Regions from separate parts of the Homo sapiens genome. Here all the other regions are linked to region 2. The links are contacts of gene promoters, found by promoter capture Hi-C in blood cells and fetal thymus (Javierre and others, 2016). All regions are on one chromosome and are shown on one strand. Each heading gives the region's core, a stretch centred on a gene start or on the middle of the fragment in contact. The rest is flanking DNA. Distances are from core to core; before and after follow the strand shown.

Evidence for each region. Contacts are between HindIII fragments. The CHiCAGO score rates a contact against its expected background, and 5 or more counts as called.
Region 1: a contact is called between a fragment that was not itself captured here and the fragment with the promoter of MICU2 in region 2, in 1 of 17 cell types (naive CD8 T cells). The highest score is 6.7, in naive CD8 T cells.
Region 3: a fragment that was not itself captured here is called in contact with the fragment with the promoter of MICU2 in region 2 in 2 of 17 cell types (fetal thymus and naive B cells); the score reaches 6.2 in fetal thymus.

What each region holds. Positions count from the first base shown.
Region 1 is chr13:23,883,286-23,887,939 of GRCh38, reverse strand. MIPEP (mitochondrial intermediate peptidase) reads left to right here. Exons shown (of 19, transcript NM_005932.4): 2 at 1,434-1,607. Among named protein-coding and RNA genes, the nearest start is that of PCOTH, 3.3 kb to the left of the region's middle. The HindIII fragment of the contact is 3,971 bases long and covers 1-3,289 here.
Region 2 is chr13:21,602,775-21,607,577 of GRCh38, reverse strand. It overlaps MICU2 (mitochondrial calcium uptake 2), which reads left to right and starts at 3,408. Exons shown (of 12, transcript NM_152726.3): 1 at 3,408-3,639. The coding sequence starts at 3,430. RefSeq lists enhancers at 3,225-3,294, 3,076-3,694, 3,695-4,314 and a silencer at 3,465-3,674. The HindIII fragment of the contact is 1,411 bases long and covers 2,668-4,078 here.
Region 3 is chr13:24,265,175-24,269,815 of GRCh38, reverse strand. The region is part of intron 4 of SPATA13 (spermatogenesis associated 13); the gene reads right to left. Among named protein-coding and RNA genes, the nearest start is that of SPATA13-AS1, 13 kb to the right of the region's middle. RefSeq lists an enhancer at 2,314-2,463. The HindIII fragment of the contact is 8,225 bases long and covers 1-4,641 here.

The DNA.
Region 1 (4,654 bases), core at 55-2,554, 2.3 Mb before region 2:
GTCTGTGCTTGAATCAAATTAAATCAGTATAAAGATGACATTTGTTTTTGGTCCTGATTTTCCTTTGTCTCCCACTGACTTTCTTTTATTTTATTTTTTATCTTGTAATATATTTTGAAGAGAGATTACTAGCTTAACTTCATCCATCCCTTCTTGTAGAAACAGTAGGGCTTGTCAGGCCTGAAGGTTTACCTGTTCGTATTTCTGAAAATCTATGCGTTAAGCACCTACAAAGTGAATTAACAAAGCCTAGCATCTGCTCCGGTCACTTGTTTCTTTCATTGAGTTCCCCCATGTGTTAGACATTCTATTGGATAGCTGGTTAAAGAAATGAAGGGCAGGGCTCTTGGGTCTGGAAGCTCACCTTTTCAGGAGAGAAGACTTTCAAACAGATAAATTGTAATAGAGAAGTATGGAAAAGTGTGGGCTTTACAGATGTACAGAGCGGGTTCGAGTTCTGTCTTTCCCAATATTAATTTGTGACCTCAAACAAGTTTTTTCTAACGTCTTAAAGCATGTGGCCTGATCTGTAAAAGAATGATACTCTGTTCTGTAGGATTGTGTGATTTAAATGAGAACCTATGTAAAGTAGCAGGCACACTTCATGGTATGCAGTAGGTGCATATTAAATGCTTTTTCCCCCTGCCTTCCTGAGTGTGCTAACAAGTGTGATTGAATAGGTAACAAGAGAATGGTCATTACCATTAGATCAGTGATTTTTGTTTTTATCAAGATATTGAAATGTCTTTGTAACGTATAAAATTTGCTCCCAGTTTCAGCCTATGATTTTAATATGTTCATTACATTTTTCTAAAATATCTATTGCTTCATAGTCAACTCATCCTCCCTATTTGATAGTTATAGAATAATTGGTACTATGTACTGAGATCTCACCTTGTCAGCTGCTGCTGTTAGTACTTTACATATACTTATTACCTGTATCCATGCTGTAAGGTATGTATCGTCATTCCCATTGTACATGATGAAAAAAATATTTCTCCTAGGAGGAGAAATAACATGACCAGGGTTATAAGCTAATAATAATTATGGCTAACATCTATAAATGCTCTGTGCCAAACACTGCTTTATGTATATATATATATATATTTACATATATGATCTCATTTAATCTTTGCGGCCACTCTTAGGTTCTGTAGAAGTGACAGCTGGATTTTGAACCCATACCATTGTTGTTGTTGTTTTTTCCGGAAAATAATTAAAAATTGAAGAAAAATTATGTTCTGAAAACATTTTTAGTGTAATTTATGTGGAGTGATATGGGGAGTATGATAGTGGTATCTGTGATCACAGGTATAACATGATACACCAATGAAAGTCAAGATCTCCTTTGTGATAAAAGTAATTTTAGTAAATATAAAAAAAGCACAATTTTGAATTTTGGTTATAAATCAGACGTATTCTTTGGTTCTAAGGGTCTTTTTGGAGTTCCTGAGCTGAGTGCCCCAGAAGGATTTCATATTGCACAAGAAAAAGCCTTGAGAAAGACAGAATTGCTTGTGGACCGTGCATGTTCCACCCCACCTGGGCCCCAGACCGTGCTGATCTTCGATGAGCTCTCGGATTCCTTATGCAGAGTGGCCGACTTGGTAAGGTGCTTTACCTCAGACTTGAAGCTACCTCTCTTTCAACTTGTTAAAATTTAAGTGAAATTTATCCTTTGTTGTTTACTATTAATATTAGATTATAAAGTTAAAAATGTCTGAAACTGAGATCCATTGGGTATAATTTTTTATGATGAAATATGTCATTAGGAATGGGAAAATATTATAGGAAAAGGTGATATTTAGAACTTGTACTTTAATACGTATGTTTAATAAAATATACATGTAATATATAATGAATGAATACTAATATAGCAAATATTTGCTATATTTGGGTAATATATATTTACATATATATTCATTTGACAGAGATTCTTCATTTATGAAAGTGTCTCCCAAAATTCTAAGAACACTTTATGTGTACATTTACAACAAAATTCCCCTTTTTCTTTTTTTTTTTTTTTTAATAGAGACAGGGTCTCCCTGTGTTGCCCGGGCTGATCTTGAACTCCTAGCCCCAAGTGAACCTCCTGCCTCGGCCTCCCAAAGTGCTGGGATTATAAGTGTGAGCCACTTCTTTTTCATAAGAGGTGTGAAAACCAGTTTTAATAAACCTTTTCAGGAATGCTTTTTTTTTTTTAATTAAAAACCAAGTTTTGACATCAAAATGATTGTAAAGACTTTTTTTTTTTAACATTTTAAATTTGAAATAGAAGTGTATACCTAGATCTCTTCAGCAACTAGGAAATCCATTGCTGAGATAGCAAAATTTTCTTTTTTTTTTATTTTTAATTTTTGTGGGTACATGTATATATTCATGAGGTACATGAGATGTTTTGATAGAGGCATGCAATGCATAGTAATTACATCAGGGAAAATGGGGTATCCATCCCCTCAAGCATTTATCCTTTCTGTTACAAACAATCCAATTATACTCTTCTGGTTATTTTAAAATCTACAATTAAATTATTATTGACTGTAGTCACCCTGTTGTGCTATCGAATAGTAGGTCTTACTCAATCTTCCTGTTTTTTTGTAGCCATTAACCATCCCCACCTCCCCCATGCCACCCTGCTACCCTACCTAGCCTCTGGTAACCATCCTTCTACTCTTTATTTCCATGATTCAGTTGTATCTATTTTTAGGTCCCACAAGTGAGTGAGAACATGTGATGTTTGTCTTTCTGTGCCTGACTTATTTCACTAAACATAATGACCATCCATGTTGTTGAAAATGACATAATCTCATTCTTTTTTATGGCTGAATAGCATTCCATTGTGTGTAAGTACCATACTTTCTTTATCCATTCATCTGTTCATGGACAGTTGGGTTGCTTTCTCATCTTGGATGTTGTGAACAGAGCTGCAGCAAACATGGAAGTGCAGATATCTCTTCGATATACTCATTTCCAGGAAGCAGGGTTTCCTATCAGCTTGAAGGAGCTGACTCTTGGTTACTCTTGTCAAGGAAAGCAGCACACACAATTTAAATAGTGATCATTTATGATCCTGTCTACATGGTATAGAACTGCATAGGTTTTTCCCTCACATTCAGTCAATGTTGAGCACGTACTGTGTGCCAGACACTGTCTAGGCATGAGGGATACATGCAGGAATGAAACAGACACAATCTGTTACTTCATGGAGTTTATATTCTGGCATTAACTTGTTTTTGGAAATTTAACTAGACTGTAGGCCCTTTCTACAGCCTAGTTAGCTGAAGAAGCTTTCCCTGGATGAGCTGAGGTAACCTTCTCAGCATATCTCCATTTTCACAAGAGGGAAGAAAGGCACTGGGTGATGAAGGGATGTGCCCGCTGTCAGCTGGCCAGCGTGTGGTGCAGCTGGGCTGCCAGCCCAGGCAGGGTATCTGTCGAGCTCTTCTTCTTTCTCCTGTTCCAACCATTTCAGGGCTGGCTGGCTGCTCAGGTCTCATGAATCCTTACCTGGAAAGGTTGCAAAGTTTGTTAGCCTCTCCATCTTTAAAAAAAATGTATACTTGTTTTTAAAATTATTATTCTGTAAAATTGACTTCTTTTGGAGGATGGTACAGTTCTATGAATTTTAACTCGTATAAATTTGTGCAGCCCTCACCACAATCAGGATACAAAGCTGTTCCATCCACCCCCAAAAATCTCCCTGTAGTCACACCCCCCCCTCCCCACTAACCTCTGGCAACCACTAATCTGTTCTCTCTCCCTATAGTTTTGCCTTTTCTAGAATGTCACATAGGTGGAATCCTGTATACCTTTGACTGACTTCTTTCACCCAGCATAACTCATCCCCATCTTTATTTTTTTTCCTTTTTTGGAAAATTTCCTTCCACCCATACAACTGATTTGAGCATTAACACCTTTCAGATGATTATATGTTCACCACAAGCCTCCCGCTCTTAAGAAAACTGATAAAGTATCTTACTGTAAAGGGTTTTTCCCTGGAGTGAAGTTGCAGGCTCTGAGTAGTTCTGTTGTACTGGGTTTTTGTTCTGTGCCTCCAGTATGTGCATAGGAAATGTGTCTTTGAATGATGGGGAAGCTGTGGAAACGCACTGCCAAAAGGAGGTTTCATACCCTGTTCACCTAATTGTGTCACAGAAATCAGAAAAGGAAAATCTGTGTCAGTGAATTTCACTGTATCGTCAACCCTCCAGATTGGGGGATCTGTGGAGTCAACCAACCTTGGATCAAAAATATTTGGAAAAAAAATTTGCATTCATACTGAACATGTACAGACTTTCTTTTCTTGTCACTGTTCCATAAAACAATACAGTGTATCAGCTATTTACATATTGTTTACATTCATTAGGTATTACAAGTAATCTAGATATGATTTGATGTATGGGGTGTGCTGTGTGTCGGTTATATGCAAGTACTACACCATTTTATATCAGAGACTTGAGCATCTGTGGATTCGGGTATCTGTGGGAGGATCAAACCATTGTCCATTGATACTGAGGGGTGACTTGGCGTGGCTGTCACAAATCCCAGAATTCACTGTGTATTTGTTGTCTTAGTCTTCATCTTAATCAGTATTCTAGGATTTTTTTCTACATTTTTGCTTTTGATCTTCACTAAAAGATTTTAACTTCTCTGC
Region 2 (4,803 bases), core at 2,159-4,658:
TAAATATAGTTCAACCTCTGACTATTCCAAGCAATGGTTCTTTATAATATCCATGCATATGCTTTTTACTTCATTCCTATAGGAGTCCAACCTCTTTAACTAATCTTTTGAGATCTCCCATATTTTTTCTCCTCCACCTAAGATAATCTGTCTCAGTGCACATTATTCTGGAATAGAGCAGTAAACAATCTTTCAGAATCCAATAGCAATTTTTGTTTTTCTCCCCACACATGCTAAGATCAAAGATGTGTTTGAGTTAATAATTTCTTCTAAAATGGAAATACAAAGGAGTAGATATCTTCAGTAAAAAAACTAGTTGACCTCTTTTGTTCAAGACCAGTAACCCAGAGGGAATCGAAGTTTTGATTGTCAGTAAAAAGGACAATAATTTGAAGAAGCGTGTGGATAGCGGCTAAGAAAGGCCAGGATAAAGTCCGGGCAAGCAGAAGAAATACACTGGTGGAGCATCTGAGATTCAGAAGAGGAGCTCAGCCTCAAGGCGGGTGGGGACGCTGAAAGGGAAGCATGAATACGCCAGTGACAAATGTGCAGAGGGTCAAGGGGGCTGACAACTGTTCCACAGACTGGAGATCATTGTGTGGCCCCTGCCTGGCCCTCAGGACACTCCAAGCCAGTCCCCAGCTAGCCCTTCTGCACCAAGCCTGTCAGCACACACTGTATGCACCCTCCCCCAGGCTCTCACCCTGCCTCAGACCCCAGCAAGTTCCAGATCAAGTCTTCTGTCTTCCCTAGATGCTTTTCTGCCTGTGCCAGCCCACCTCACCCTTGCTTCTCTGTACAGTATAAAAGTCAGAGACAATTGTTTTGAAATTCAAGCCTAGCCTCTCCAGTGAAAATAAAGCTCCTTAAGAGCAGTTTTTCTGACATATCACTTTCGTTCTTCTTCAGAAAAAAAGAGCAGGAGTAAGTGAATTAAGAATACTTTGAAACAATAAGTATTTCCATCCTGTTTTCGTCCAGTTATTTAAAACAGCATACAATGTACAGCTTTAGAAGCAGCTTCTTATTTGGGGGTTGGTTTATAAACTGCATGGTTGAAAATACATCCCAGCCCAGGACTTTACAGCTGATGATGAAGAAATGAACAAAGCTGGAGCCCAAAAAGACCAATATAGTCAATGTGCTTAGACAAATGTCAGCAGCTGCCAAGGAAGATTTCATACTTAGAATGGTTATTCGACTAGAGATTGGTTCTATTATAAGAATTTGTTTCCTCTGCATAAGAAAAGTTTGAATACATTAAATTATAAGTGAGAGTTCTAGATGCCTGGGCACATAATGAAAATTTAAAAAATAACTAATTACACTGTTTTCCAAGTGGGTTCAAAGATTTTTGGCAAAATAAAAAGAAGCTTTTGTTTTGAAAATAAAGTACCCCAAAGGAATAATATACTTCTGTATTTTGGATGGCCAAAGCATAGAAATATGAACCCCTGAGTTTCATTTGTGCCATTTATTTATTCACTTATTTACTCACTCATTGAATGTCTATTACGTGCTGGGCATTGTGCTAGGTGCTAGAGAAACAGGGAAAAGGAAGACATCTCACCCACAAGGATGTCAAATTGTGGGAGAAAGACAATGTTCTTAAATATGCTACATGTTTTAATGGGAATCTAAACTTATCTTGGGCTTAAGGCAATACTGAGTAATAGATGCCAGGTTTCATTAAATACCTAGAGGAACTGTGTGAGGCAGTTAGAAGTATACACGTAAAGACTGTGGTTTCTGGAAATCAAGAATAAACTACAAGGTAAGACATCCAGGGTGTCCAAAATATCCTGGAAGTCCTATTATCACCAGGAAACAAGCTAGATGTCAATAGTCCAGAAAAGCAGGACATGTGCCAAAGCTACCAGAGTTAGCAGAGGTGAAAAACAGTCCAGAGGTTGACAAAGTCAGGCTAGATACAAAAAAGCAGGAAAATCTCAGGTTAAGATGGGCTAGTGATCTGGAATCATGGACATTCAGTCAAGCTCATTTGTGTTCACAGGGCAGAAGTAAACCAAACCTTGACCACAGTAAACGCACATCTGTCATGAGCCTACCATGTGCCAGGCATTTGGCTAGTCACTTTATATAAAATATCTCATTTAGCTTCCCCACCCCAAACTGTAAGAGGGTTGTTCACAGATGAAAAAATTGAGACTCAAAGAGATTAAATACCTTACCCCAAATAGCAGTGATCATCTACCAAATCGTGAGTTATTTACAAATGAGAAAATGGAGACTCAGAGAGATTAAATAATTTGCCCCAAACCACAGTGATCATCCTGGTAGAGCTAAGATTCAAACCTTGAGGTCTGGCTCACAAGTCGGTGAAGTGAGGCTCATCTCTCTACTTCCTACCTGGGAAGGCACACTGAAAAGTAAGTCCAGAAGCTGACGGAAAAGTGAGGAACCTCTGACTGCAGATTAATTTAGACAAGCGGGCTAAGAGAAAGGGAGCAAGGATTAAGGGCAGATAATAACAAAGGGATCCACGGAACTTCCACTGAATGATCAAATTAGATTTCGTGTGACAGGTTTTTGTTTTTGTTTCTTGAAGTTTTGTTTTGTGCAAAACTTCAAGACAGCAGTGATTATGTGATTAGGAGTCTTGGCCCCTTTGATGTTGGCTCCGTTACTGCATGCCCAACTAAAGCTTCTAATAGCTGGGGACATTTCAGAGGCTGAACAAAGAGTTTATTAAAAAGAGTTACTCAGGAAAAGTGAAGACCAAAGAATGGAGGATTGGAGGCTGTTAAATAAAACCAAGTAGTCTGCCTCAGCTACATCACTTATCACCAATGCAACAGCCAGGACTGGAGGTATCGTTCTAAATCTGCACTGGGGAAAACCTCTGGGTCCCTGATGATAGAGACATGGGGCTGGTGTGCTGCTGTCTCTGACTTTTAGTTCTAGGTAGGATAAGAGCTACTATCAAACCTTTTGTTGAAACTGAATTTAAATTCATTATAAGCAAATAGTGAGGGACTGAAATAAACAGAATGCCTTGTCTGAGAGTTGTTTTAGCAGAAATGAAAGAACAGTCAAGACTATAAGCATAGGAAGACATGAACAACACAGATGCAGAAGAGACTATTTCAAAAAACGTTTCACAGTTTTACAAGGTGAAAAAATGAAAAGGAGAAACCTGCCCACACAACCGAGGGCACTATCTTGTTTTGGACTAGGAAGTCATATTATACTGTCTTGATACTCTTCCTGTCATCCCATCCCCACAGCCTTAGAAGGCAGCCCCGGAACCGAAGGCCACCTCTTGCGGCTGCGAGCGTCGCCTCAGCAACCGCACCCACGGCGCAGGCCCGGTAGGCGGGGCGGAAGCCTGTCGGATGTCGCGAGAGTTCCCAAGCGGTAGGCGGCGGCGCCGGGAGAGAAGCGCCGCCTAGCTGCGCTTCCGCAAAGATGGCGGCGGCTGCGGGTAGCTGCGCGCGGGTGGCGGCCTGGGGCGGAAAACTGCGACGGGGGCTCGCTGTCAGCCGACAGGCTGTGCGGAGTCCCGGCCCCTTGGCAGCGGCAGTGGCCGGCGCGGCCCTGGCAGGAGCAGGAGCGGCCTGGCACCACAGCCGCGTCAGTGTTGCGGCGCGGGATGGCAGTTTTACAGTCTCCGCACAGGTACAGGACTAACTCCTTCTGCTAGCCCCAGTCAAGCTCCTCCCTCCCCTGACGCCCTTAGGCGGGGAGTGGTTTGGCTCTGGGCGGCTCTCCCGGAGCCGTGGGTGGAGGTGCCGCTGCGGATCGGAGCGCCCTGCGACTGGTGGGACTCGCTCCTTCCTGGACCGGCCCCCGGCCTGAGTCCCCGAGGGCCTTCGAGGCTGGTGACCGGAGATTCTGCCTCCCTTGGGAGAACCCCGCGGACGCTGAACACCACGGCCCACAAAACTGGCCGCACTAATTTAGTGGTGATGAGTGTGGGCGTGTCTTAATTCGAGGCTCCTAATTCAGAATCTCACTGCGCCTCGCCTCTTGCTACCTCTCTGGTCAGTGAAGTGGCATTCACATCCGCAGGTGGTTTGCGTCCAGTTACCCCTGTGGGATATACCTTTGTTAAGCTTTGCAACTAAGTTTTACGATCTTTTCTTTGTATAGCATGATGAAGTTCTGTCGATTGCTTTTTTAAGTCACGAATGTGTCAGCCACAAAAATTAACCAGTTGATTTCCAGATTTTATTATCAACTTTAAGGAACATTATTGCATGATTATAAACCTTAATATCTTAGTGGACCATAAGTTCTAAGCAAAAATTGCTCCTAAAACCTCCATCTATTAAAGACAAGAGTCCGCCGGGCGCGGTGGCACACGCCTTTAATCCCAGGGCTTTGGGAGGCCGAGGCGGGTGGATCTCCTGAGGTCAGGAGTTCGAGACCAGCCTGGCCAACATGGTGAAGCCGCTCCCCACCCCAGCCCCGCCCCCCCGGTCTCTACTAAAAAATATAAACAATTAGCTGGGTGTGGTGGCGGGAGGCTGAAGTAGGAGAACCGCTTGAATCCGGGAGGCGGAGGTTGCAGTGAGCCAAGATCGAGCCATTGCACTCCAGCCTGAGCTACAAGAGCGAAACTCCGTCTCAAAAAAAAAAAAAAAAGATTCAAGTTCCCTATTTCAGGATAAATGATGTTGTAACGCATTTGAAAATTTGAATGAGTAGTGCTTTAAAATTTTTGTAGACTTAGTAAGTTTTTACATATGAGCTTTTTTGAAAATTGAAAGTAGTAGTTTATTATTTTCTTTTTTAGATTTACATTATGCCTTTCTAGCGAAAAACTCAAGGAACATTCAG
Region 3 (4,641 bases), core at 197-2,696, 2.7 Mb before region 2:
GGAGTTTGAGACAAGCCTGGGCAACATAGCAAGGTCCTGTCTCTACTAAAAAAAAAAAAAAAAAAAAAAAAAAATTTATATTAGCCATGCATAGTGGCATGTGCCTGTGGTCCCAGCTACTCAGGAGGCTGAGGTGGGAGGATTGCTTGAGCCCAGAAGGTGGAGGCTGCAGTAAGCTATGATCGTACCACTGTACTCCAGCCTCGGTGACAGAATAAGATCCTGTCTCTAAAAATAAAAATAAAAAATTAGCTGGGCAGAGTGGCACATGCCTGTCATCCTAGTTACTCAGGAGTCTGAGATGGGAGGATCACTTGAGCCCAGGAGTTCGAGGTTGCAGTAAACTATAATCACACCACTGCACTCCAGTGTTGTGAGTTACAGAGCTAGATCCTGTCTCTAAAATAGATACATACATACATACACACATACATACATACACACATACATACATACATGTTAAACAAGTGATAGTGCCAATTAGTAAAATGCATGCTTTATAGTGATGAGCTTTGGAGTCAGACTGCCTGTGTTCAAAAGCTGCTTTCCCATAACAAAATTAGGGAAAGTTTCCAAGTCTCTAGGCAGCTCTCTTTCCACATCTGCGGAGTGGGGATAACTGCAGCACCAATCAATAATCCTCACAGAATTACTCGAGAACATATTGCAGTGTTTAGAGAAGCACTGGCTCTTCATTGGGGGTTAATAAATGTTAGCCGTCACGCTGCTGCTGTCGCTCCAAAAAACCTGAGGTCCCTTAATAACATGCTAGTTCCCAGAGAAATCACAGCATGAACTCAGAATGGAAAGCTGTATGATTAGTAATAACACACATGTTGACTATATACTATATCGTAGGCTTCTCTTATCTTCAAATATCTGTGGCTATTTCTATTGATCTGGAGCATCCCACCCTCAAATCCAGGTAAGGACAGTTTTCTGGGAAACTCATAGCCTTAGTAACCCGCACTACAAGTGAAAAACACACACGATCACACAAACTCTTATGACCAGTTCAGCTGAAAATCTTTCTCTTACAGAAATTTTATTTCATTTTGAGATGGAGTCTTGCTCTGTCACTCAGGCTGGAGTGCAGTGGCACGATCTTGGCTCACTGCAACCTCCACCTCCTGGGTTCAAGTGATTCTCCTGCCTCAGCCTCCCGAGTAGCTGGGATTACAGGCGCACACCACCATGCCCGGCTAATTTTTGTATTTGTAGTAGAGATGAGGTTTCACCATGTTGGTCAGGCTGGTCTCAAACTCCTGACCTCAGGTGGTCTGCCCACCTCGGCCTCCCAAAGTGCTGGGACTACAGGCATGAGCCACTGCGCCCAGCCTCTTACAGGAATTTAAAAAGATGATTTAAAAGAGGCAAATACTTAAGATGTTTAATAGACAATTCATTCAATACAGGCATATTCTCAATAAAGGTGGTAGTTTATTAAATTATAGGCTCAAAAGACTCCTCGATACTGTTTTTCACAGCAGACTACTCTCTCTCTCGTGTAAAGTCTCCTAAGTATATCTCATGGAATACTAGTGGCATAATACGCTCCAAGAAAAGAGTTTGAAAACCACTGTATATTGTATCTACCTTTTGGATATCCTACAGGATTCATCAGTAATCACAGGCTCTAAAAAGTTCCCACTGACAGCTGTGCCATCTTCTTTAACATAGAATTTAACAATCGTATTTGGCTATGACGCTCTTTTTTTATGACAACACATATTACTACACCAAAAGAAAGTATCCTCTGGCCTTGCTACTCACAGTAGGGCCCATGGACCAGCAGTATCAGCATGACTGGGAGCTGGTGAGAAATTCAGATTCCTGGGCCCTGCCCCAGGTCTGCAGAATCAGAATCAACATTTTAACAACATCCCAGGTTATTCAAATGCACATTCAGGTTTCAGAAGTGTTGTTCTAGACAACTCAAGAAACTATACAACATACTTGGAGAAGCACTGCCATGAGGCAAAATCTTCAATATCAGTATCTTTTCTAACTAGTGAAGACCATGGAATGAATGGGTGGGCTTGAGTTTAGTCAGAATGAAAAGGTAAAATGCATAATACTCAGACACAAAGCAGCAGAAAGTAGGAATTAATTCTCAAGGTTATCCATTCCAACAAAGCCTAAATTCCAGAAGGAGGCAAATAAAATCCAGTGTTTTCATTTTCTACAAAAATTTTTTTTTTGGTTAAAATCATTAGTTTTCAAAAAGCAAAAGCTCTCTTGGCCTCATTTTCTTAGAACTTGGTAGGCTGTTTGCTCACTTTCACTTTTCATCGGCATCCGGTACAAGAGGATAGTTTCTGTTTCCCAAGCACTTTTTCTCAATCCAGAGACGGGGTCAGGGCACTAGACTAACATCCTTGGGATTACAGGATCTTAAGCCAGAGGCATTCACTAGAGATTATTGTGTAGGCAAAACAAAATAAAAAGAAGGAAAACAAGTAAATAAACAAAGACTGCCTTGAAATCAGGCATCTTCTCAAAGGATGTGACCCAACAACCCCTTTATGTCCCCACCAGCTTGGATATGGCCCCATTACCAAGCACTACAGGACAGGTGCTAGATGGAAGAGTCCCAGGGAAGAGAGTCACACTATTCTGTGGCAAAGGACTACCATCAACTTTAGGAAATGGGCTCAAGGATGGGCACATCTGCCAGCCACCCTTCTAAGATAGTTTTGGAAGAAGCCACTACTAATGTAGAAAGGGGCATGATAGAACAAGGAGATAGGACTTTCAGCTTAATTTTTTTTTTTAGTGATCAGAGCCTACATTTACCAGATCAGTAAGAATCCTACAACGAAAACCTAAACCATAGTTCAAAGAAGTCTTAAAATCCTGGCTGGGCATTGGTGGCTCACACCTATAATCCCAGCACTTTGGGAGGCTGAGGAGGAAGGATCACTTGAGACTGAGAGGTTGAGGCTGCGGAGAGCTGAGATTGTACCACTGCACACCAGCCTGGGTGACAGAGGGAAGCCCTGACTTGGAAAAAAAAAAAGAAAAAAGAAAAATCCAACCCCCAAATTAATCTCTTCTCTTTGGATAAGATACCACTACCTCACTGGAACTGGGAAATGACCATCATTGATTATTGGCAACACTGTAAAAGGATTAAGCACAGGGATCAGATCCGTAGGTAGGAGTGGAGATATCCAACTTACATATTAATATTAAATGTTGAGAAATCAGAGAGGACAAAATAAACACTGAAGATTGTGTGTGGTGGCTCATGCCTTGATCCCAGCACTTTGGGAGGCCAAGGTGGGAGGATCACTTGAGGCTAGGAGTTTGAGACCAGCCAGAGCAACATAGGCAGACCCCATCTCTACAAAAAATAAAAAAATTAGCCCAGCTTGGTGACACATGCCTTGAGTCCCAGTTGCTCAGGAGGCTAAGGTGAGAGAATCCCTTGAGCCCAGGAGATCGAGGCTGCAGTGAGCTATGATTGGGCCAGTGCCCTCCAGCCTGGGTGACAGAGCAAGACATTATCTCTATAAAAATTAAAATTAATTTTTAAAAATAGATGTTGAAAACACATAGGATGTTATGATCAATTTTATTCTATAGATACAGAAAGTTATTTTTGGTAAGCTGGTCCCAAAACCCATATATATTTACATACCTATGGGAAAGAAATGTCATAAAATTCTTGGAGAGGCAAGTTAATAGCAGTATCTCAAACTCACAACAGTAGTCAGCACTTGACCTCTCTAGGAGGATTTCTGGAGACTGAGTAGGTTCATTAAGGTTCTTGAGATTGAGTGGCCATTAAGGTTCCTTTGAGCTCCACATTTCTGATATCTTCTTATTTTAAGTATGACATGGTAGATATTTTCTTCTATGATCACCTCCGAATTAAGTGCAGAGAGATGACCAGCACCAAAGTTTCCCACCTGCTGCAGCTTCCCTGTTGTTTCTGCAAAGCAGCTGCCTCCCTTCATGGTACAGACATATCCAGAACCCAGGAACATCCTTGGAACTTTATGTCCCCACTAACTTTGATATGGCCCCATTACCAAGAACTACAGGACAGGTGCTAGGCAGAGAGGCAGGCCCCAGGGGAGAGTCATGCTGTCCCCTGGGAAAGCATGGCCATCAGCTTTAGGACATGGGCGGAAGGATGGGCACATCAGCCAAGAACCAAGGCTGCCACGGGCTGGAATGACCCATAATCCCAACTCCCATATGGACAATGACTACACAGAATCAGGAGTGACACAGCCAGGACCTGTGGACATCACTGGCCATCTCCCACAGCTGAGACGGGGCTGCACTTTCTAAAGTTGGGATGGGAGAGTCCTTCACAGGAAATAATTTGCTACATTTGCTATCAGTTATTCAGGCCAATGTCCATTCCCCTAAATCATCGAGTGCCGAGAGTGACCTCTTCATTCTAAATGGATTAAAGACAAACATGATTATTAATCTACAGGTCACAGTGATGCTACTTTCCAGAGGAACCTGAAAGGCATTGAACGTAACACAGGGCATGGCATGTCCTAGCACAAACTGATGAGCCGGGTAGATGCTGCCTCAGCAGGCCGACTCCTGTTGGGCAAAGGCAGGCTCAGTTCAGGTCTGACTGAAATGCCACTCAGCAGCCACAGACTCTTCACCACA